7 separate regions of the Homo sapiens genome follow, and all the other regions are linked to region 4. The links are contacts of gene promoters, found by promoter capture Hi-C in blood cells and fetal thymus (Javierre and others, 2016). All regions are on one chromosome and are shown on one strand. The core of a region is centred on a gene start or on the middle of the fragment in contact, and the rest is flanking DNA. Distances in the headings are between cores, read along the strand shown. Region 1 overlaps LRRIQ3 (leucine rich repeats and IQ motif containing 3). Region 2 overlaps AK5 (adenylate kinase 5). Region 3 overlaps PIGK (phosphatidylinositol glycan anchor biosynthesis class K). Region 4 holds the start of ACADM (acyl-CoA dehydrogenase medium chain). Region 5 overlaps ZZZ3 (zinc finger ZZ-type containing 3). Region 6 overlaps LOC105378808 (a long non-coding RNA gene). Region 7 overlaps PIGK (phosphatidylinositol glycan anchor biosynthesis class K).

Region 1 (3,028 bases), core at 343-2,842, 1.5 Mb after region 4:
GTCAGTGAGTTTTTTTTCTCTTAACACTTCAAATATTTCACTCCACTATCTTCTGCCTGCATGGTTTCTGATAAATCAAATGTCGTTATTATCTGTGATCCTTTATAAGTAAGATTTTTTAAAAATTCTTTGGCTTTTTCCAAGATTTTTTTTTTACCTTTGATTTTCTGAAGTTTGTATATTAATTATCTAGGTGTGAGGTTGTTTTTTTTTTATTTTCTTACATTTATCCTACATGATGTTCTCTGTTTCTTGAATCTGTGGCTTAGTGTCCGATGTTAGAGTAAATTGTCATTCATTATTGTTTTAAATACTGCTTTTATTCCTTTCTATTTTTCCTTTTTTGGCATTTTTATTACACGTATGTTACACATTTAGAAGTCCCACACTTCTGGAATGTTATGTTTTTTTTCAGTCTTTTTTTTTCTCTTTGGTTTTTAGTTTTGAATGTTTTTGTTGACATATCCTCAAAGTCAGAGATTCTTTTATCAGTCATGTCCCATCTACTAATGAGCCCTTCAAAGGTATTCTTCATTTCTGTTATAATGTTTTTGGTCTCTACCATTTCTTTTTTATTCTTTCTTAGAATATCTATCTCTCTACCTACATTATCCATTTGTTCTTGTATGTTGCCTACTTTTTCTATTAGAGCCATTAGCATATTAATCCTAGTTGTTTTCAATTCCCAGTCTGATATTTCCAACATCCCTGACATCTGTGTGTCTGTTCCTGATGAGTTTCTGTACTGCCTGTCTGTTGCTCCAATTTTGTGGTCAGCAGTTTACCCTATGACCTTACTTTGTGTAGCTAAGAAAAGTTGTTGATTTTTAGTTTGTTCAGCTTTCTAATGTGTTGTTAGGATGGAGTGACTACTCCAAGCTCCTTACATGCCATACTGGAAACTGCAGGTCCCTTGATACACTTTTTGAAGCATATATTTTATCTTGAATTGTTAATGGAACTAGGCATTCAATTAATTTTGTAGTGCTTACTGTATTAGTCTGTTTTCATGCTGCTGATAAAGACACACTCAACACCGGGTAATTTATAAAGAAAAAGAGGCTCAGTGGACTCACAGTTCCATGTGGCTGGGGAGGCCTCAGAATCGTGGTAGAAGGTGGAAGTCACATCTTACATGGCAGCAGACAAGAGAGAATGAGAACAAAGAAAAAGGGGTTTCCCCTTATAAAACCATCAGCTCTCATGAGACTTATTCACTACCACAAGAACGGTATGGAGAAAACTGCCACCATCATTCAATTATCTCCCACTGGGTCTCTCCCACAGCAAGTGGAAATTATGGGAGCTACAATTAAGATGAGATTTGGGTGGGGACACAGCCCAACCATATCATTAAGTGCCAAACACTGTTCTAAACCCTTTAGGTTGACTTATTTCGTCCTCATAAAAATTCTATGGGCTGTTATTATTATCTTCTTTTTACAGATAAGGAAACTGAGGCACAGCATACATAATTTACTTGAGATCACCAATCTCAGAACAACTTACATTTCATTTCCTTTTTCTGTACTTAGTTTATAGGGTGCTTGAAAAATAAAATGAACTTGTCGTAACCAGTAGAATGTGGCTGAGGAGACGCTTCAGTTGAACCTAAGCCTTAGGAAGTTTGGACAGGTTCTGCTTTTATGCTTTGGGAGCCCTTAAGCATGTAGAAAGTCTGGCTACCCTATTTCAGACACACATGGATAGATGACATGGAGAGGACAGGTCAACATAGAGAGGTCCTGAGACAGTATGGAAAGAAAGACTGGTTCATCTCAGCATTCCAGCTGAACCTAACCTTCCAGCAGTTCACTGGAGGAGTGAACTAACTGATGCTTCAGCCACTGTCAGTTGGAGAACTGCTTACTTCAACTGAGTCAACACACAGAATCTTCAGAGTAACAAAATGATGGTTATTTTAAGCCAATAAATTTTGGAGTGATTTGTTACACTACATAAATAATTGAAAAATAAACCTTTTTTGTTGTTTTGCAAGTGATTATTGGCTGTGGAGAATTAAAAATAAAGGAATTTACAATAGATTTCTACCGAAATGGGAGAGACTTTGTCATTTGTACTTAGAAGTCTTTTACAGGTTCCTTCCCCATAGTTTGCTGTTTCTCTGAGGAAAGGAAAAGACAGACATGTGTATGAAAGAGACATTTATTGAAACCTGACTCAGTTCTAGTTCAGGTCCTATGGAAAAATTTGAAAAACTACCTAACCATAAAACAAGTTTTCTGTTCACAGGGTACATATAATTTAGTGGAAAACAGGGCCATTAAATAATAACATATATAAATATGTAATCACTAAATTGGGGATGTGTGGATAGAATCAGAGTCTAAATAATGACTAGACAATAATTTGCCAAAGAAGGTTACACTGAGAGAGAAGTGTAACATCCTAAGATAGCAGGTTAGCACATTTCATTAACTAAGAAGCCAGGGTTCTTAATAGTTTGGATTTTTTAAATTTTTGCTTTAAGTTCAGGGATAGATGTACAGGTTTGATACATAGGTAATCTTGTTTCAGGGTAATTTGTTGTACAATTGATTTAGTCACCCAGGTGTTAAGCCTAGTGCCCATTAGTTATTTTTCTTAATCCTCTCCCTCCTCCCACTCTCCTCCCTCTAGTAGGCCCCAGTGTGTTGTTCCCCTTTATGTGTCCATGTGTTTTCATAATTTAGCTTCCACATATAAGGGAGAAAATGCAGTATTTGGTTTTCTATCCCTGCATTTTTTTGCTGAGGATAATATCCTCCAGCTTTATCCATGTTCCTGTAAAGGACATGATCTCATTCTTTTTATGGTTGTATAGTATTCCATGGTGTAAATGTACCACATTTTCTTTATCCAGTCTACCATTTATGGGCATTTAGGTTGATTCCATGTGTTTGCTATTGTGAATAGTGGTGCAGTGAACATACGTATATGTGTCTTTATAATAGAACAATTTTTATTGCTTTAGGTATATACCCAGTAATGGGATTGCTGGGTCAAATGTTGTTTCTGTTTTTAGGTC
Region 2 (3,264 bases), core at 296-2,795, 1.8 Mb before region 4:
CTTCATTGTTTTACTTAATTACCTGCTCTCCTGGCCCCATATGCAGCTTCTTCTAAAAATGTTGGTTATCACAAGAAATTGAGGCAAAGGAGCCAAGAGCCAATTGTGAACGATGTAAAATTATAGAAATTCAAAGTCATTGAATCTTAGCTCTAGTGAATAATCTCACAGTCCAGAGTCAGTGGCAGAGCCTACGTCTCATCTATGCCTCCCTCCCTCCCTGCCTTCTTCCCTTCCTCTCTCCCTCTCTCTCTTTTTTGGGAAAAAGGAGTTGTTTTCAGCAACTATAAGGGGATCTGTGAAAATTATATGACCACCTTTTTATGGTCTATATGACGACAGATATTTAATTTTGATTGAAATAGAAGTGAAGAGTAAGGGATTCATAATTTGGTCCAAATTCTTGTTGTTGTTTTCTTTGAGACAGGGTCTTGCTCTGTTGCCCAGGCTGGAGTGTAGTGGCACAATCTCAGCTCACTACAGCCTCCACCTCTGGGGCTCAAGCAATCCTCCCACGTCAGCCTCTTGAGTAGCTGGGATTATAGGCATGTGCCACCATACCCAGCTAATTTTTTGCAGAGGCAGGGGTCTCACTATGTTGCTTAGGCTGGTCTTGAACTCCTGGGCTCAAGCAATACACCCGCCTTGACTTCCCACAGTGTTGGGATTACAGGCATAAGCCACTGTGCTGGGCCTTTTGGCCCCAGTGCTGCAGCTGCACAGAGTTCTAATTCCCAGATCCCTTAACTAAAATGTTCTCAGCTTTTTCTCTTTTCTTGGAAAAAAAAAAAAAAGGTAAGCGGCTCATTTCAGAGGAGAAAGTGAAGTGACTCGCCTTGTGTAGCTGTGTTTTTGTCTCGTAGTAGGCGATCACGGGGATGGACGCTCGGTAGTAGGCTTCTAGGCGCTTGGCGATGGTCTTGGTGGTGTCGTCCACAGGCAGGCTGCTCCGGCTCCTTTGGAGAAGGCGGTTGGTCATGGTGTCTGCCGAGCAGTCCATACAGATCACCAACTGTGGGTCTCCAATCTGGAGATGGGAGTGGAGCACAACACAGTCAGAAACCTCACCCTGCTGATGTTCTGGAAAGGCCCAGGGCCTCTGGTTTTTCCTTTCTTGGCCTTCTGGTTCCCTTCAAGGTCCCAGCATTACACTATGGTGCAGCTGGGACTGGACTCCATAGCTCCCCCCTTCCAGGTCAGTTCCCTTCTACACACTGCCTCAGAGCTGTCTCTTGCCCTCAGCTTTTAGGCCACCTCACGTGATGCAGACGAGTATATGCCACCCACTGCAGCCACTGTCTGTCTTCTTCTGCACTGAGAAGAAAGGAGTATGTATGTGTGAGGGGGTGTTTCCTCTAATGTGAAGCCTTTCCTGACCACCTGAGGCACAGCTAATCACTTCTCCTTCAAGCCACCGTGATATAACAGCCACAGGTGGCATTCTGTGGCTGTGCCTGTACTGTGTCAGGTGAGTGGGGCATAATGCTTTAGCACACAGAGGCTGGAATCAGGCTGCTTAGGGTCAAACCCTGGTGTCATGACTTGTCTCCAGGATGGGCTTCATCAATTCGTTATCTCACTTTACTTGTAAGCTACTCTCCCACTGAGACACAGAAACACCTTGAATCTGACCTGTAACTATTTTGACCAACAGACTGTAGCGGAAATAATGTCCATGCTTTTAGAGTCTAGGTCACAAGAAAGTTTGCAGTTTCTGTCTGGTTTTGTGGAACACTTGCTGCAGTGGGGAGTCCGCTGCCATCTAAGATGTCCAACTATCCTGAGACTGCCAGGCTGAGAGGAAGCCCAAGTTAGCCATGTGGAGAGGCCATGTGGACGGAGATGCCCTACCAGCCCCCAACTGTTTTAGATATCCCAGCCCTGGCTCCAGACATGGATCTCAGCCCCAGCCACTGTCTGAGTGCAATTGCATAAGGAACCCCAAGTGAGAACCAGCCCGCTGAGCCCCATAACTTCCAGAACCACGAGAGATAATAACAAATTGTTCTTTAAAGTTTTTATTTTCTTTTCTTTTGTAAGAGATGGGGTCTCGCTCTGATGCCCAGGCTGGAGTGCAATGGCTATTCATGGCATAATTATAGTGCACTATACAGTCTTGAACTCCTGAACTCAAGTGATCCTCTTGCCTCAGCTTCCGGAGTAGCTGGGGCTACACACACATGCCACTGTGCCAGACTTACATATTGTTCATTTAAACTGACTTCCTCATTAACTAGAAGTCTGACTCAACTTCTCTGCATCTGAGTCTTCTCATTCATACAATGAGGATGATCATAGGATTGCTGTGAGGATGAAATAAAATTAAATAAGGTAACATACGTATGCTCCTTGGCATACAGCAGACACTCACTAACGATTCACTGTTACGCTTATTTCCTCTATGAGGCTTAGGTTCCCCGTGTGCAGGGATTAAGAATTCTCTGCTCCTAGTCCCAAGTCTTGCACACAGTAGGTGATGAAGAAATGTTTTAATGAATGAGTGATGGTGGTATGATCTGTGTTATGAGTCTCCCCATCTCCATATCCTTCTCTTAAATGTTCTTTTGTCTCTGGGACATGCTTACTTTGCATCCTCCTCCAACCCTGGATCAGAGGAAACCATTACTCCCCCTGACCTTGCCACATTCGAGCTGTGAGTAAATGAAGGCTTGCCACCACTGTAGAAAGTGTGTGGGGTGGGATGAGAACAAAGTTCAGTCAAGAAGAGGATGTTTAGGCAACACGGAGAACTCGTAATATCGTGAGTTGCCAGACAGTGTTGGTCAAACATTTATCTACCTCCTCTGAGGGGTGTACTTTAAGGAACAGAGTGGAAACATTCTCCAAAATCGACAACAGTGCAATAAACCTCTGGAATAGGTCATGCGACTTTTCTGTCTGTATTAATTGGAAGGAAAAAAAAAAAGAGCATTTGTGCAGCAAGAAAGGCTGGGTGAGGGTTTAGGAAAAAAATGACCCTTGTTCACCAGCAGAGGGCGAGCTTGGGAGGCGGCTTAATGTTCTCCCTGAAACAACTTTGGGTTAGGGTTGCATGAGACAGCCAGGCGATTTTTCCAATTGTGGGGTTATTTTCAGGCCATTTGTGGGGACAGGAAAGATAATTCAGGGACACAGGTACAAACAGAGATTATATGTCACTGAGCAGGAGCCGGCAGCAAATGACCTTTTAGACCAAAATAAGCACGGGGCAGAGAGGTAGCTTTTTCTTCCACACTGATTCCCAAAGTGTGGCCCACGGACCAG
Region 3 (3,172 bases), core at 394-2,893, 1.4 Mb before region 4:
ACATAGTCTTGCTCTCTTGCCCAGGCTGGAGTGCAGTGGTGAACTCCTGGGCTCAAATGAGCCTTCTGCCTCAGCCTTCTGAGTAGCTAGAACTACAGGAGCATGTTACCATACCTGGCTATTTTAAACATTTTTTGTGTGTGTGCATAGAAATGGGGTCTCACTATGTTGCTTAGGCTGATCTTGAACTCCTGCCCACAAGCAGTCCTCTTGCCTTGCCTCACAAAGTGCTGAGTTGATAGGCATGAGCCACCATGGCCTGCCTTCTTTGTTAGTTTTTAGTACTTTTAAAAATAGTAACAAAGTTACTTGGAGGTATATGTTTAAATGAATATATTTTAATTGAGTTATATAATTTTTGGGTGTTTTATTTTCAGTTGGTGCTGAGTAATATATGGAGAAAGAACAATGAACATTTTTGAAAGTAAAAAGTAATTTGTCAAGATTTCCCAGGTTTTATTTCATCTGATTTTTCTTGTTTTTTCCCCCTTAGGTAACTGTGGAGAATTTTTTACGGGTATTAACTGGGAGGATCCCACCTAGTACTCCTCGGTCAAAACGTCTTCTTTCTGATGACAGAAGCAATATTCTAATTTATATGACAGGTAATTTCATAATTTAGAGTTTTTATAGTAGAGTATATTGAAACTCTTTGAAAAGAAAGGCAAATGGAAAGAAATTTAAACACGTGAAATGATTTTTGGTTAAAATGGTTTCTCATGTAGTTATATTTTCCATAATGTAGAACTATTTGAGATGATATCTGAAAACAGTATAACATTTTGTGCTGTTCCTGATTTTCTTATCTCTATATTTTTTTACTATTGACTTGGTAAACTTAGCACCTTTTGCTTGGTATCCTGCTACAGCATCCTTCAGTTTTGTTCTCCTGCTAATCATCCTGTGAAAGTGTCTAATAGAAATTGCAAATCTGTCCCTCTTCTGCTTAAAACTTTATAATGGTTTTCCATCTCAAATTTTGCTGTACATGAAGATTACCAACTGTAGATACTTAGGCCTTATTTTAGAATTCTTACTTAATTTTCATCTGGGTTGGGATTCATGAAATTGCATTGTGGATATACTCCTCAGATATGAGATACAGTAGTCTTTTGATTATACTTTGAGGAATATTGGAGATAAAGTGTACCATAATATAATATAGTTATCATATGTATTACACATAATAATATATGTAATGATTTAGCTATATTATTTAGTTTGTCTTAGTTCTTAATACTTTTTCTAATTCTCTTCCAAGCTTGAATGTTCTGTCCTTCAAACATTTGTTTAAGCTCTTGCATTTGCTTATGACGTCTTTTCAGTCCACTTTGCCTGCTTGATTATTCCATATGGTTTTAGTTTTAGCTCAGGAGTCACTCCCTTCCATGACTTCCTTTCTAAGTCTAGGGTGACTGATGTTTCCAATTACCTGGGACAGTTGTAGTTTACACCTGTTGTCCCAGTGTTATTATTAATAGTTTCTGCTTTCTCCTTCAGAATTGGTATGAATAACACAGCTTACATTTTTCTTATCTAAAGATATTTCTCTTCTCCTTGGCTGGTCTGGACTTTCCTCTGTGCATGCCCATGTTAATTTTTAGTTTCTTTCATAGCATTTAACTTACTATTACTTTATTGTTTGGGTATCTGTTGCCTTCACTGTATTTTGAATTCCAAGATGTCATTGATTATATATTTCTTGCTTTTTTTTTTTTTTATCACCAGTTGCCTGTCTTGTAGTAGTATTCGGTAAATATGGATGTTAATCAAAAGATGTTCTATAAATTTTTTGGAGGGCATTCCATTCAACTGATGATAAAGCAGGTGCAGAATGATTCTTAGATATCACATGTCAACATAGTTAATGACCCCTACTTAGTGGCTTTTCTCTATCGTGTTGCATTTATTTATAACTTTCAAGGCTTAATTTATAAACTTTATAAATTAACTCAATAGAGTTAATGAAGCCAGGAAAAATTTTATTTTACTTTATCTGAAAATTACAAGGAATTTTCAAGCTTTTATGGCAAACAAGATGAAGTGCAGTTTTTTGTAGCTTAGCTTTATTTGATGTACTAAACTAAAGGATTTATTATTATTATTTTTTGTTTGTTTCCTGATTCTGTTGGAACTCTTTCAGGGTAACTGCAGGCTTGGAACAAATTCCAGTAGTTGAAGATAGGATTTGATAAACTATGGCCTGTGAACTGGCTGCCTGTTTTGGAAGTTTTATTGAAACACAGTTGCATCCATTTGGTTTACACAGTTTCTGTGACTGCTTCCATACTACCACAGCAGAGTTCAGTAGTTGTGCTAGAGACAATATGGCTCACAAGCCAAAAATATTTACTACCTGATCTTTTGTAGAAGGTTGCCAGGGTCTGTAAGAGAATAAAAACGTTGATAATTATGATAATATGATAATAATATTTATGGAGGCATAGTATACGTCAGGCAGTATTCTAAATCATTGTGGCTATTAACTCATTTCATTCTCACAGCAGTGCATTGACTTAGGTGCCGATATTCAAGGTTGCTGTATGTGGTTGTGTGGGTTGTATAGTGCACCCAAGAATCTGGCCAGGGTGTTAAGTGGGAACTGAAATCTCGTATGTGCTTACACTTACTAAGCGATCTGCCCTACCACAGGGTTGTATTCTAATGGAAGGGAGGGATACTTTTTTCTCCCACAAAGGCATAGTCAACTAACCACTTGTAAGCCTGCAGGGCTGCATGTATCCAAGAGGAAGGTGAGGAGACTAGTTTTTTTTTTCTACTTTCATGCCCAGTTGAAAGTACCTTTTAAAAACCTGTGCAAAGCAACTGTATAAGTAAGCTAATGATAGTGTTGCAGATACATTTCTCACTTTATGGCTGAGGAAACTGAAGCATAGAAATATTAAATTATTTTCCTAAACTAACATGGCATAGTTACCATTTGAATCCAGGCAACCTGCCTCTAGATTGCATACAAATAGCACAATCTTCTGCTCCACCTCTTGTAGTAAAAATGTGGGACTAGCTAATGTCTTCAGCTTCTTTCTCATCAAAAATGTTTGCCTGGTATTTGAAACATTTTGTGAATGGAAACTCATTTCTGATATAATAATGGAGCCAGTGGAAGAGCATAAATATAGGTTTCTGTAATTGAATATTAGAAACCCTATTA
Region 4 (3,028 bases), core at 170-2,669:
CCAACCGAGGGAATTTAAATAGGGAAAAAGTCACTTCACATGTGACTGTTCAGGAAAATATGTTACATAGAACAAAGTGCAAAGGTTGCTATTACCAGAATACAATGCCCATCAACCTGTTAATTACATAACAAAGTTAGCCAGTTAATTAGAGAGGTGGTTTGCAAATAGAAAACAGAAACAGCACGGGATCTGGAGTTATAATTGCTGAATGTGAATCTAGGTTCCACAACCATATTTGTGGCCGTAGACAGGTTTACAAACTGCTTATAGCTTCCGTTCAAAACCAAAAAATGGGACTAATCTCACTGCGTATTTTCGGACGATTAAAGTACGATAATGTTTTGAAAGCCTAATGCTATATAACTATTGGTTTTATTACTTCGGGCTCTCTGTCTAGAACAATGAAATTCCAAATATCGAAACAGCACCACTAGAATTGAACACTTTTGTGCATTTCTTGGGAATATAAGAGTGTCAGTTTTATGGGTTAAAGAAGAGAAAAAGGGTGTAAGTTTTCTATATCAGGTTTTTTTTAGATCCTTCCTTGGAGGTTGAGAAATCTGCTTTTCTGGTGTAGGAGTTAAAAATAGCTGAAATCTCCCAATTTCTGCCTTCACTGCACATTAACTTGCATAACACCAGCAAAACATGGGCAGCAATTCTTTAGGATTATTCTAAAACCGCAGCTTTTTTGGTCCAAGACATAACTTTAACTTAATTTTAAGTGACATCTAAATGGCAGTGGTGTGAACATATCAAGAATATTTAAGATACCAAAATTCATCTAGTGACAAACTTATTTAGAATCTATTAAGATCCAATACTAGAATATACACACAAGTTCACATAAAATTCTGCAGGTTTTTTTTTTACTTTTTTTTTTCCCGTAAGCAACGTGGAAACGTTACAACGAAAAGCTTATTAAACATTAAGTATTTCAAGGAGTAGCTGCTCCATTTTTCTTTTTCCCGTGGTTCTGACACAGAGACGGGGTCACTTTGGAAAAAGGTGGGATTCCCGCGGTAAATATTTGGAGGGTTTACCAGAGAAAGAAAAACGATATTCTAAAGAGAGGATGCCGGCTATAACGGGGTCGCCTGACGGGAGGATACGGAAAATGAAACGCTAGGCTACGTTCCGTCCGGTGGTAGGAGGCGTGAAAGCAGGTTGGGGGCCCCTAGGCTGGCTCCTTCCTCAGCCCGACTTCCCACTCCTCCCGGCCGCACCTATTTTTGGCCCAGGGCCCCCTGCTCCGACACCACAATACCCATGTTCCAGCCCCACCGCACCGCTGGGCTCCCTCTCACCCTGCAGCATCGCCCGAACCCCGCTGCCATGTTGGCTCCCGTTCCGGCCACTCGGACAATAATACACGGGTCACGGCCTTGACATACTCCCCGAACGCGGGACTCCTCTGGTCCCGCCCACTGGAGCCCGTGGGCGGGATGGGGCGGGGCGGGAAGAGGCGGTTGGGCTGCGGAAGGACGGGGCGCTGCGCTAGGCGGGGTGGCAGCGGTCCCCGGCGCCGGGTAGCCAACGCATGCTCCGTGACCCTTGCGTGCGCCGTCGCTGCGACCTGGGGAGGGGTCGCATCCCCTCTCCGGGCAATCTCTGATAGTCCTGGTTTGGTTTTCTGCGTTTCCACCTCTGGCCCTCTCTGTGGGACGCCGAGGCTGACCGCAGCGCGGAAAGAGAGCCAGGGCGGGGGAGGGGGACGGCGGCGGGGCTGGGAGGGCCCGGTTGCGCTGAACGGTGGGGGGACTTGCGGCGCGGTGCAGGACGGGAACCTGGGTTAGAGGGCGTGGCTGGGGCCTGGAGGGAGAGCGGCCCCCGTGGTCAGCCTTCACCTTTACCCGGAGAGAACGGTCAAACCCAGATCGTGTCTGCTTGGCGGATTCAAAGTATTAGTACATTTTGCTCTCAAATGCCCTACCTAAAGCGAAAGCATACTTGTGTTTCCTTAAAATTTAAAAGAGAATTTAATTGTTTAGGTAAATTTGACCTTTCCGCGTATTCCCAAGGCTGTTTATGACTTGTCCGCTGATGTGGTGTCCTTGGATATGCGGGTGCAATCCGAGGCTGTCCAAAGCTCCTGGTTCAGCGAATGATGGAAGTGAATGTCTCCCTGAGGAATTCTACCTGGAGTCACTTTCTCTTCCAGTGAGACCCTGAGTTTTGAGATGGTAGCTTATACTAAATCTTATACTAACTTAACATTTTCTTTTGCCCAATAAAGGTCACCCATAAATTCATCTAATTTAGCTGTTAAAATTCTATATCCTGTTATTGTATTCCCCTACTTTGTCTTCTGGGAATTTATAGTGTGTTAGTCCTAGGTACAAGGCAGAATGTTAATTAAGCGCTATATTCAAAGTGAAAGTACCAGGAAAATTCGGAAAAGGGATAAAGAGCTGAGTTTGTCCTGGTATAGGCAAGAAAGCCTTCAAAGTGGTGGTGGTAAGTAAAACACAAAGCGGACTCTTAAAGATGATTAGGAATTGTCTATTCATGTCTCCTTTGTTCCAATTTCTTATTCTGAACATTTTAAACACAGAAAAGATGAACGAAAAGCACAAAATCACCCATATGCCTATTGTAACCCCTTCTTACTGTACACGTGGCTGGCAGAGAAGCGAAGATGGAGCCCTCATCTTAAACATGTCTAGTCGGTAGTTCCTGCCACCATTCACCCAAGCAAGCTACCCCCTTGTTTGTCTGTGCCTGCAGCTCGACTTCACAGGCTGCTCTTAGAAAAGGATTTGGGGCTGCTTTTCATTAAAAAGAAAAGCCTTACTGATGTTGGGAACGGGCGCTCAGTGTTGCAAAAATCAACACTGAGACAAAGGAGCTCTTAGCAAGGCTAGTTTACTTTCTGCAGAAAGGTTGCCGCTCGCTAGTAGTCTTGCCACGAGAGCACACACGCATAAAGGAGACAGGGTCATTTATAACCTGACACGTGCACCCTACTACCGTGTCCGGTTTCCATTGGCTGGAAGGGGACCTCTGTACTTGTCCTGATTGGCTA
Region 5 (3,129 bases), core at 345-2,844, 1.9 Mb before region 4:
CAAAGTGCTGGGATTACAGGCATAAGCCAACGTGCCAGAATGCATGAATTTATACTGTAAAGTGTTGGAACAAGGTTGTGAGCCCTAGGAACATTGCAGTGTGAATATTAGCTATTACCACTGCTACTGCTGCTTAACTTAATTACATTCCGTATATACGTTTGATATACTGTTTTAGTTTTAAGCACTATTCCTTGTGGAGTAAATTTCAACAAGTAGGATTTTCCCAAATACTTTATTTATTTTTGAGATGGAGTCTCGCTGTCTCTCCCAGGCTGGAGTGTACTGGCGCAATCTCGGCTCACGGCACCCTCCGCCTTCTGGGTTCAAGCGATTCTCCTGCCTCAGCCTCTTGAGTAGCGGAGATTACAGGCGTGTGCCACCACGCCTGGCTGATTTTTTTATCTTAGTGGAGACTGGGTTTTGCCATGTTGGCCAGGCTGGTCTTGAACTCTGACGTCAGGTGATCCGCCCGCCTCGGCCTCCCAAAGTGCTGGGATTACAGGTATGAGCCACCACACCTGGCTTCCCAAATACTTTAAAACTTTAAAATTTTATATTTTCTCTAGCTTTATTGAGTTATAATTGGTAAATATAAAAATTTTAAATTTAATGAATGAGACAGTGAATCACAAATTTTCTTAAACATTCCAGTATTCTTATTAACCAAGCTAAATATTCATACACTTTTAAACTTAAAATCATAAGCGTGAAGTCAGTTACTATTTTAAATTTAGAAACTATCATTGTCTATAGGAACTTAAAAATATTTAGGATAGTTTTAAACCACACAGTATTAGTATCATGAGTTTGATATACGTAATTTCAATATTCTAATTAATCATGGACGTTGGGCAGTCACTTACCTTCGGGAACAGTTTTGCTGTCTTCAGCAAGTTGAGATTCCTGTGACATACTTTATGTCCACAGTTCAGTTACCATCTCTTGACAGGCTGTTTATCAGCTTGACATTGGCCTTGGAAGCTGTCTTTGTCTAGGTGGTTTTTCTCATGTCACAGATGGACATAATGAACTGTCAGTAAAAATTGTCTGTATGGTAACAGTGGAACTCTAAGTTGATGTTGGTTTCTTCTGAATTGAAGTTTAAGACCTTTTGTAATTGTTTTGTAATTGCTTTTTAACTCTATTGCCAGATCAAGTTTTGTAAACCTCACCCAGATTATTTCACCACTTGATTGGATTCCAGGAATCCATTTTCTGTCTGGCTGATAGCACAGGTTTTAGATCATTTAAAGACATTAAGGAACTGAGAGGTATTGATAGCTTTTGTTAATTTGTTGTAACAAAAAGTATGCCAGAAGACTAGAAACAGCATAAGGTCTTATTTTTAAAAAGGAAACCAGTAGTTTTGGAGATTGTTTTCCTAGGTATGCCTTGGAGAAGAGGCAGAGAAGTACAGGCTTAGCTCATCAGCATTAAGAACATTTCATTAATAGTGTAAAATAAACTTTCTTAAATACTGTTAGAAGGAATTAATGTCAGACTTTGAGAGAAGTATCTAAAAAGGTACTTTTTGTTGTCCATTTTTAATATTTTCATTAATGTTTTGAATAAATGTACAGTTGTGCTTATAAAATGTCAGAACAATTTAGCTGGCAAGGATAACTAAAACAACTTGTAAGTTCTGTCTGAAACTACAGGCAGAAACCTATAGTGTGAGCTGCTTAAAAGTGTGGAATTAAAAAAATATGGAATTCAGATAGAAAAAATTACATGAGTAAAATTTTGTTCAATTAATGTTAAGGCACTGTATGTACTAAGAGAATAAAAAATGTATTGCTCTATTCCTTCGAGGAGCCTATAATTGAATGGGGAATATAGATATATCAAACTATACATTGTAATTTTATGATAGGATTATTAAGCATTATGGGAGCAAAGGAGAGAGTAGTTAATTCTGATGGATCATTGAATTGGCCTTTGAGGAATAAGAGTTTTCTAGGAATTGAAGAGGGGAGAAAGTCATCTCCTTTCTTTCCCTCCCCATTCTTCTTTAAGGTACTGAAAAATCAGATTCAGGACAGTGTTTATTAAGACAGATATATTTGTGGGCAAATAAAGAGTAAATTGGAATGAGAGATTAATTAGGCTACTACAGTTGTTTAAATAGAATGATGATGGCCTGAGCTGGAGCAATAACAATAGAACAGAAAGAGTAGATAGTTTGTTTTTTTTTTTTTCCAAGACATTTTGGTGATAGAATAAGTAGGGTTTATTAGCCGGGTGCCATGGCTCACACCTGTAATCCCAACATTTTGGGAGGCTGAGGCGGGCGGATCACCTGAGGTCAGGAATTCGAGACCAGCCTGACCAATATGATGAAACCCCGTCTCTACTAAAAATGCAAAAATTAGCCAGGCGTGGTGGCACGCACCTGTAATCCCAGCTACTCAGGAGGCTAAGGCAGGAGAATCGCTTGAACCCGGGAGGTGGAGGGTTGCGGTGAGCCAAGATCGCGCCATTGCACTCCAGCCTGGGCAACAAAAGCGAAACTCCGTCTCAAAAAAAAAAAAATAGGGTTTACTGATTGTATATTATTAGGAGTTTAGTTTTATATAGTCTCAGACATCCAACTGGTGAGTTGCTTAAAAAAGAAAAAACAAATGAAGTACCAGGCTGCAGTAATAGGATTTTGTCCATAATAAGGGATATGATATTCATTCCATGTTGGTTAGGACACATTTACAATGTTGGCCTTATTTCTGAAAGCTACACTTTAAGAAAAGTAAATGAAAAGATAGATATGTCAAGAGGAGGGTAACCCATGAGAACCTTTGAAGGAATTGAGAGTGCTTATTGTGGAGAAGGAAGACTTGACAGGAATGAGTGAAGGAGGGAAGGGGACAGTTGTTTTCAGGTAATGCAGGGCTGTAATGAGTTGTTCTACAGGGTAGAATTAGATCCAGGATACCACCAGACTTTTTTTTTCTGAGAACTAAGATATTCTCTTAACTGCAGTTACAGTGATCAAAATTAGGAAACTTAACATTAATACCATTATCTAATTTACAGTCCACAATCAAATTTTTTCAATTATCCTAATAATTATTTTTATAGCTTTTTAAAATCGAAGATCATACATTGCATTTGATTTCATGTCTCTCCAGT
Region 6 (3,372 bases), core at 286-2,785, 1.5 Mb before region 4:
CCCTTCAGTTTCTGTCATCTTACCTTATTTGTATCACCATGAGAATTTATTGTATTCATTTTTCTTTTTTCTTATTGTCTGTTTTCCTTACTGGAATGTAAGGTTCGTGAGAGCAAGAACCTCCTATGTATTTCCAGCTACAATATCCTGGTATGTTATGTCAACTAAAGAAAAAAAAACAGGCTTTTAAATAATTAAAGTTAATTTTATTCAGAAGTCCTACTGAGTACTGCAACCTGGGAGAATCTTTCAAAGAGTTTGTTATATTGCTGCAAAGCATTGATTCACCCCATAGCTTAAACATAGGTGGTGGTTGCTCTGCATGTGTTAAGAAGTTACATCAAATGTGCTCAGAAATTACATTAATGACATGGTTTGGCTGTGTCCCCACTCAAATCTCATCTTGAATTGTAGCTCCCATAATCCCCATGTGTCAATGGTAGGACCCGGTGGGAAGTAATTTAATCATGGGGGCAAGTTTTTCCCCTGCTGGTCTCATGATAGTGAATAAATCTCAGGAAATCTGATGGTTTCATAAAGGGCAGTTCCTCCGCACATGCTCTCTCTCTTGCCTTGCTGCCAGGTAAGATGTGTCTTTGCTCCTCCTTTGCCTTCTGTCACGATTGTGAGGCCTCCCCAGCCATGTGGAACTGTGAGTCCACTGAACCTCTTTTTCTTTATAAATTACCCAGTCTTGGCTATTTCTTCACAGTAGTATGAAAATGGACTAATACAGTAAATTGGAACTGAGGTAGTGGGGCTCTGCTATAAGGTTAACAGAAAATGTTGAAGCAACTTTGGAACAGGGTAACAGGCAGAGGTTGGAACAGTTTGGAGGGCTCAGAAGAAGACAGGAAAATGTGGGAAACTCTGGAACTTCCTAGAGACTTGGAGGGCTCAGAAGACAGAAAGATGTAGGAAAGTTTGGAACTTCCTAGAGACTTGTTGAATGGCTTTGATCAGAAGGCTAATAGGGATACGGACAAAGAAGTCCAGGCTGAGGTGGTCTCAGATGGAGATGAGGAACTTGTTGGGAAATGGAATAAAGGTCACTCTTGCTATGCTTTAGCAAAGAGACTGGTGGCATTTTGCCCCTGCCCTAGTTATCTGTGGAACTTTGAACTTTAGAGAGATGATTTAGGGTACCTGAGGGAAGAAATTTCTAAGTGGCAAAGCGTTCAAGAGGAAGCAGAGCATAAAAGGAAAACTTGCAGCCTGATGACGTGATAGAAAAGAAAAACCCATTTTTTGCGGAGAAATTCAAGCCTGCTGCAGAAATTTGCATAAGTAACAAGAAGCCACATGTTAATTACCACGACAATGGGAAAAATGTCTCCAGGGCATGTAAGAGGTCTTCCTGGAAGTCCCTCTCATCACAAGCCAGGAGGCCAAGGAGGAAAAATGGGTTTATGGGCTGGGCCCAGGGCCTTGCTGCTTTGTGCAGTCTCAGGCTGCTCACATGTGATATTGGGACTGTGGGTGCACGGAAGTCAAGAATTGAGGTTTGGGAACCCTGCCTAGATTTCAGAGGATGTATGGAAACACCCGGATGTTCAGGCAGAGGTGTGCTGCAGGGGCAGGGCCCTCATGCACGACCTCTGCTAAGGCAGAAGGGCAATGCAGAAGGGAAATGTGGGGTGGGATCCCCCACACAGAGTCCCCACTGGGGCAGTGCCTAGTGGAGCTGTGAGAAGAGGGCCACCATCCTCCAGACCCCAGGATGGTAGATCCACCAACAGCTTGCAGCATATGCCTGGGAAAGCCAGAGACACTCAATGCCAGCCTGTTAAAGCAGCTGGGAAGGAGGCTGTATCTTGCAAAGCCACAGGGGCAGAGCTGCCCAAGACCATGGCAACCTACCTCTTGTATCAACGTGAACTGGATGTGAGACACGGAGTCAAAGCAGATCATTTTGGAGCTTTAAGATTTGACTGCCCTGCTGGATTTTGGACTTGCATGGGCCCTGTAGTCCCTTCATTTTGGCCTATTTCTCCCATTTGGAATGGGTGTATTTACCCAATGCTTGTACCCCCATTGTATTTAGGAAGTAACTTAACTTGCTTATGATTTTACAAGCTCATAGGCAGAAGGGACTTGCCTTGTCTCAGATGAGACTTTGGACTGTAGACTTTTGAGTTAATGCTGAAATGAGTTAAGACTTTGGGGGACTGCTGGTAAGGCATGATTGCTTTTGAAATGTGAGGACAGGAGATTTTGGAGGGGCCAGGGTGGAATGATATGGTTTGGCTGTGTCCCAACCCAAATCTCATCTTGAATTGTAGCTCCCATAATCCCCAAGTGTCAAGGGAGGGACCTGATGGGAAGTAATTTAATTATGGGATCAGTTACCCTCATGTTGTCATGGTAGTGAGTTCTCACGAGCTCTGATGGTTTTATTTATCTATCTATTTATTTATTTTTATTTTATTTCATTTTATTTTTTGAGACAAAGTCTGGCTCTGTTGCCCAGGCTGGAGTACAGTAGCGTGATCTTGGCTCACTGCAACCTCTGCCTCCCAGGTTCAAGCGATTCTCCTGCCTCAGCCTCCCTAGTAGCTGGTATTACAGGCATGTGCCCCCACACTGAGCTAATTTTGAAACATGGGGTTTTGCCATGTTGGCCAGGCTGGTCTTGAATGCCTGACCTCAGATGATCTGCCTGCCTCGGCCTCCCAAAGTGCTAGGATTACAGGTGTGAGCCACTGCACCTGGCCTCTGATGGTTTTATAAAGGGTAGTTCCTCTGCACATGCTCTCTCACCTGCTGCCATGTAAGATGTGCCTTTGCTCCTTCTTCATCTTCTACCATGATTGTGAGGCTTCCCCAGCCATGTGGAACTGTGAGTCCACTAAGCCTTTTTCTTTAGAAATTATGCAGTCTTGGGTATTTCTTCATAGCAGTATGAAAATGGGTTAATACAAGTAAAGTCTCATCAAAGTGTGGGTATGAAGTTACATCTGGTCATGAATTTGAGGCATAATCATTAATCTTGTCAGACATTATCTTATGTACAGGAAGAGGCAAGGGCTAGGATCACCAAACTTACCTTTTGTAAAAATTCAGTGATTCAGGCAAGAGATGTGCAAACCTATTCCCTATCCTGCTTATGGTCTTCAAGGCATTCTTCCACAAGGCTGCTCACAGTCAATGAGTCAGGGGCTTTGTGAAATATTGCTGGCAAAGGAGCAGAATGAGCAAATGGCTTCTTATCTTTGCTACTTTGTTTCATAATCATCAGCATCCAATAGATATCTGTTGAATTAATGAATACATGGAAGATATTCTGGCAGTGTATTTACTTTCTAGGATTCACGTAACGGAAAACCTAAATTTGACTAAATAGCATGAAACCTCTCACAAAGTGCAATAGCA
Region 7 (3,288 bases), core at 787-3,286, 1.5 Mb before region 4:
GGCTCAAGTGATCCTCCCACGTCAGCTTCCCAAGTAGCTAGAACTACAACCACAAACTACCACTCCTTGCTAAATTTTACATTTTTTTTTGTAGAGATGGGGGTCTCATTGTGTTGCCTAGGCCGTTCTTTAACTCCTAACCTCAAGTGATCCTTCCATCTTGGCCTCCCAAACTGCTAGGATTATAGGTGTAAGCTACTGTGTCCAGCTAGAATTTTATGATATTTTTGATATATGGAATTTTACATTTTTATATAGTCAAAAATTTAGTCTTTTCCTGATTGGATTCTAGGTTGAAAACTTAATTTAAAAAAAAACCATGTAGTTCCTTTCTGTTTGTCAGGGGCAAGAACACTTATGCTGTTCTCAAAATTGTCATTATACCTACTAAAGGCACAGGCATGTGATAGAAGCCGGGATTGTACTTGGTAGATATATTACCAAGTGACCCCAATCTATATTTACCTACCTTAGAATGGGTTCTGAACAACACTAACTTTTGAGGCATGGAATTAGATTTTCCTAGCACCTTTAATATAATTCTCAGGAATTTTTTTAAACTATAAAACTTGGTTGGATTGTTTCTAATTTTCTCTTGAGTTCAATAGCTTCTTTATAATGCACTCTCTTATGTACATTTACAACTGTTTTATATGTTATGTTTTATCCTGTGTCCTACGTTTCTCACAATAAAGGAAGCAATGTGGAATGAAACAAATATTGTATAACCCTATGTAGCTAATTTTCTTCTCTATTCTGTGAAGAAATTATGGGCATTGTCTTTGATTCTAAAGAATTTAATTTTTTAGAAATAGGAATGTTACTGAGTCACAGAAATTGTGATAACTAAGTTGGTTCAGTATTTGATTTAATTTCCCAAAGATATGCTTTCTCTTAAGCTGAATGGTTTTTTAAAATCTAATACTAGTTATGAAAGACTTCTCTTTGGAGCGATTAGTTTTACTGACAATTCTTTTTTTGTTGAGACAGAGTCTTGCTCTGTCGACAAGGCTGGAGTGCAGTGGTGCCATCTCCACTCCCTGCAACCTCCACCTCCCAGGTTTAAGCGATTCTCATGCCTCAGCCTCCCAAGTAGCTGCAACTACAGGTGCACGCCACCACACCTGGGTAATTTTTGTATTTTTAGTAGAGGTGGGGTTTTGCCATGTTGGCCAGGCTGGTCTCGAACTCCTGGACCCAAGTGATCTTCCCGCCTGGGCTTCCCAAAGTGTTGGTATTACAGGCATGAGCCACTGTGCCTGGCCTTTACTGACAATTTTTTGTGTTTGCTGTTTTAAAGCCTGAATTATGGCATACTGTTTCTTAGAGATCTCTGTATCCTACTTAAAGAAAAATACTCTGCAGCTCCATGGTTAGCCTTGATGCATAAAAATTCTGTTTTTGTTTTAATACTTCAGGTGTGTACATCCCGATTCTGGTTTAATTATCGACATGTTGCAAATACCCTTTCTGTTTATAGAAGTGTCAAGAGGCTAGGTATTCCTGACAGGTAAGAAGCCTTAATAAAGCTTAACCTTGAACTTCAGTGAAAATAACCCTTAGATAATTGTTATTATATTTGTATTTTGTGTTACTTTTGAAAAAGGTAAAAAAAAAAATCTGATTTGAAGATTTTTTGTTCTCATTAGAGCATACTACCATGTATAAATTAGATGTTACTTAAGACCATAATGACAAATTATATAAAAGAACAAATGCTAAGGTAAAAAGATTGGATAAAATATAATTATTTAGTGTAATGTATTTAATTAGTAAATGGCTCAGTCAGGGTTTTTAATTGCAGATAATGGAGTGCAATTCTGATTGATTCAAGTGGAAAAGGGATTTATTGAAAGCATATTGATTACCTTGCCAAATTAGTGAGAAGGTTGTATCCTTTAATAGCCAGGAACAAGGAAGCCTAGATATTAGAAGAGACATAGCAAAAAAATGACCTAAAACAGTCTGGTGACAATAATGGAGCTGCAAATTGCTGAAGCCTAGACTCAGCTACTGCATAGCTGCTACTGTTTGTTTCCTTTTGAAACTTAATGTTGCTATTGCCTCCTGCTGCCAAAATTTGAACTTTGCTGTCCCAACTTCTTACTGTCTCTCTTATAGAGGTCTTGGTGGGAATGTTATATTGGTAAAGTCTAGGTTCAGCACCCATGTCTGTGCTGCAGGGTGACTGGAAGAGCTAGTATATGGCATTATTAGCCTCTATATAGGAAGGTGGGCTTTGCTTTATATGAAGACTCGTAAAGTGGGAATTTTCCTACTTGTAGGGAGTGAGTTTAGGTAATAGGCGGTATCCCCACACCTTCACTCAGAGCATGTCTTCTACATTGTTTTGTCCATGATAGATTTGTTTTTCCTACTACCAAAGCAGCTATAGCAAGAAACTGTAGTCAATTCAGTTATTTAGGTTTGATTTATTTAGTACCAGTGAGTCAGTGTGGAAAGAGCCTTGTAGTTAGATATGACTTTGAAATCTGGCTTTAATGGTGATTTTTCTTTAAGTCACTTTACCATAATAAGCTTGTTTCTCATTTGTTACATGGTAATAATAGTACCTTCTTTCAGGATTCAAGTACTTCCAGTAAAAACAAATAAGAGTTATGCATAAAGTGCTGCAGGAACAGAAAGGAAGCAGTGAATGACTGAGGAAACAAAGTTATATTACAGTCTTTGTGAATAGATCATTTCAGTCTGAGTAACTGACAAAACTATAATTTCCATATTTCATCTGGAAATCATGGCAACTAGATAATATTACTATTTTAAAATTACATTAAGTCTGAGAAGGAGGTTGATTTGTTATATCAAGTGTATAGATATAATTCTTGTCATTTGTCAATTGGTTTTTCTCAAATAGGCCTATGTAGTTAGCTTTTGGTCTTTAACGGCTCTTGCGTCTATACTGGATATACTCTTCTAGAGAATCACTATGCATGGCTTGGCAATAGTTTTTCTTTGGTAAATTAATCTTTCTTCTATGAGTCAATCATTAAGATATATTTAAATGATTTAAGTTAGATTTGGAAGGAGTTTTTAGGAATAGACAATAGCAATAGGATGTATTTTGTATATTATGTTTAGTAGGTTTGTCCTTAGGTTTCTGAAGAATGTTATTTAAAAGCTTATTTCTGTTTCAAATAATTGCTTATCTATAACTGTGTTTATGAAGTCTTTGTAGTGGGGTAATTAAGGATTTAAACAGTTGGTGATTTAAGCCATTTGTTATTTAATAAATAGAAATCAATAGAAAAGATTCTGCTCAGCTAGTAT

Evidence for each region. The method cuts DNA at HindIII sites, captures the fragments that hold promoters and counts their contacts. A CHiCAGO score of 5 or more calls a contact.
Region 1: a contact is called between a fragment that was not itself captured here and the fragment with the promoter of ACADM in region 4, in 1 of 17 cell types (M2 macrophages). The highest score is 6.7, in M2 macrophages.
Region 2: a fragment that was not itself captured here is called in contact with the fragment with the promoter of ACADM in region 4 in 1 of 17 cell types (activated CD4 T cells); the score reaches 5.6 in activated CD4 T cells.
Region 3: a fragment that was not itself captured here is called in contact with the fragment with the promoter of ACADM in region 4 in 1 of 17 cell types (activated CD4 T cells); the score reaches 5.1 in activated CD4 T cells.
Region 5: a fragment that was not itself captured here is called in contact with the fragment with the promoter of ACADM in region 4 in 4 of 17 cell types (total CD4 T cells, total B cells, naive B cells and 1 more); the score reaches 6.9 in total CD4 T cells.
Region 6: a fragment that was not itself captured here is called in contact with the fragment with the promoter of ACADM in region 4 in 3 of 17 cell types (fetal thymus, activated CD4 T cells and non-activated CD4 T cells); the score reaches 8.6 in fetal thymus.
Region 7: a contact is called between a fragment that was not itself captured here and the fragment with the promoter of ACADM in region 4, in 3 of 17 cell types (fetal thymus, M0 macrophages and monocytes). The highest score is 5.8, in fetal thymus.

Annotation. Positions count from the first base shown.
Region 1 is chr1:74,187,874-74,190,901 of GRCh38, reverse strand. All of the region lies in intron 1 of LRRIQ3 (leucine rich repeats and IQ motif containing 3), which reads left to right. Among named protein-coding and RNA genes, the nearest start is that of LRRIQ3, 8.8 kb to the left of the region's middle. The HindIII fragment of the contact is 8,734 bases long and covers 1-3,028 here.
Region 2 is chr1:77,533,610-77,536,873 of GRCh38, reverse strand. AK5 (adenylate kinase 5) reads right to left here. Exons shown (of 14, transcript NM_174858.3): 13 at 836-1,027. Among named protein-coding and RNA genes, the nearest start is that of ZZZ3, 150 kb to the left of the region's middle. The HindIII fragment of the contact is 3,479 bases long and covers 1-3,264 here.
Region 3 is chr1:77,164,152-77,167,323 of GRCh38, reverse strand. It overlaps PIGK (phosphatidylinositol glycan anchor biosynthesis class K), which reads left to right. Exons shown (of 11, transcript NM_005482.3): 5 at 494-605. Among named protein-coding and RNA genes, the nearest start is that of PIGK, 54 kb to the left of the region's middle. The HindIII fragment of the contact is 760 bases long and covers 1,264-2,023 here.
Region 4 is chr1:75,723,100-75,726,127 of GRCh38, reverse strand. It overlaps ACADM (acyl-CoA dehydrogenase medium chain), which reads right to left and starts at 1,419. Exons shown (of 12, transcript NM_000016.6): 1 at 1,311-1,419. The coding sequence starts at 1,340. It also overlaps a transcript of SLC44A5 not described here. RefSeq lists enhancers at 1,204-1,293, 1,944-2,033 and silencers at 1,424-1,473, 1,524-1,573. The HindIII fragment of the contact is 3,396 bases long and covers 923-3,028 here.
Region 5 is chr1:77,663,159-77,666,287 of GRCh38, reverse strand. All of the region lies in intron 1 of ZZZ3 (zinc finger ZZ-type containing 3), which reads left to right. Among named protein-coding and RNA genes, the nearest start is that of ZZZ3, 18 kb to the left of the region's middle. The HindIII fragment of the contact is 7,724 bases long and covers 1-3,129 here.
Region 6 is chr1:77,220,668-77,224,039 of GRCh38, reverse strand. LOC105378808 (a long non-coding RNA gene) reads right to left here. Exons shown (of 3, transcript XR_001738109.2): 2 at 3,047-3,252. Among named protein-coding and RNA genes, the nearest start is that of PIGK, 2.9 kb to the right of the region's middle. The HindIII fragment of the contact is 4,293 bases long and covers 1-3,372 here.
Region 7 is chr1:77,204,862-77,208,149 of GRCh38, reverse strand. It overlaps PIGK (phosphatidylinositol glycan anchor biosynthesis class K), which reads left to right. Exons shown (of 11, transcript NM_005482.3): 3 at 1,419-1,510. Among named protein-coding and RNA genes, the nearest start is that of PIGK, 13 kb to the left of the region's middle. The HindIII fragment of the contact is 1,009 bases long and covers 1,532-2,540 here.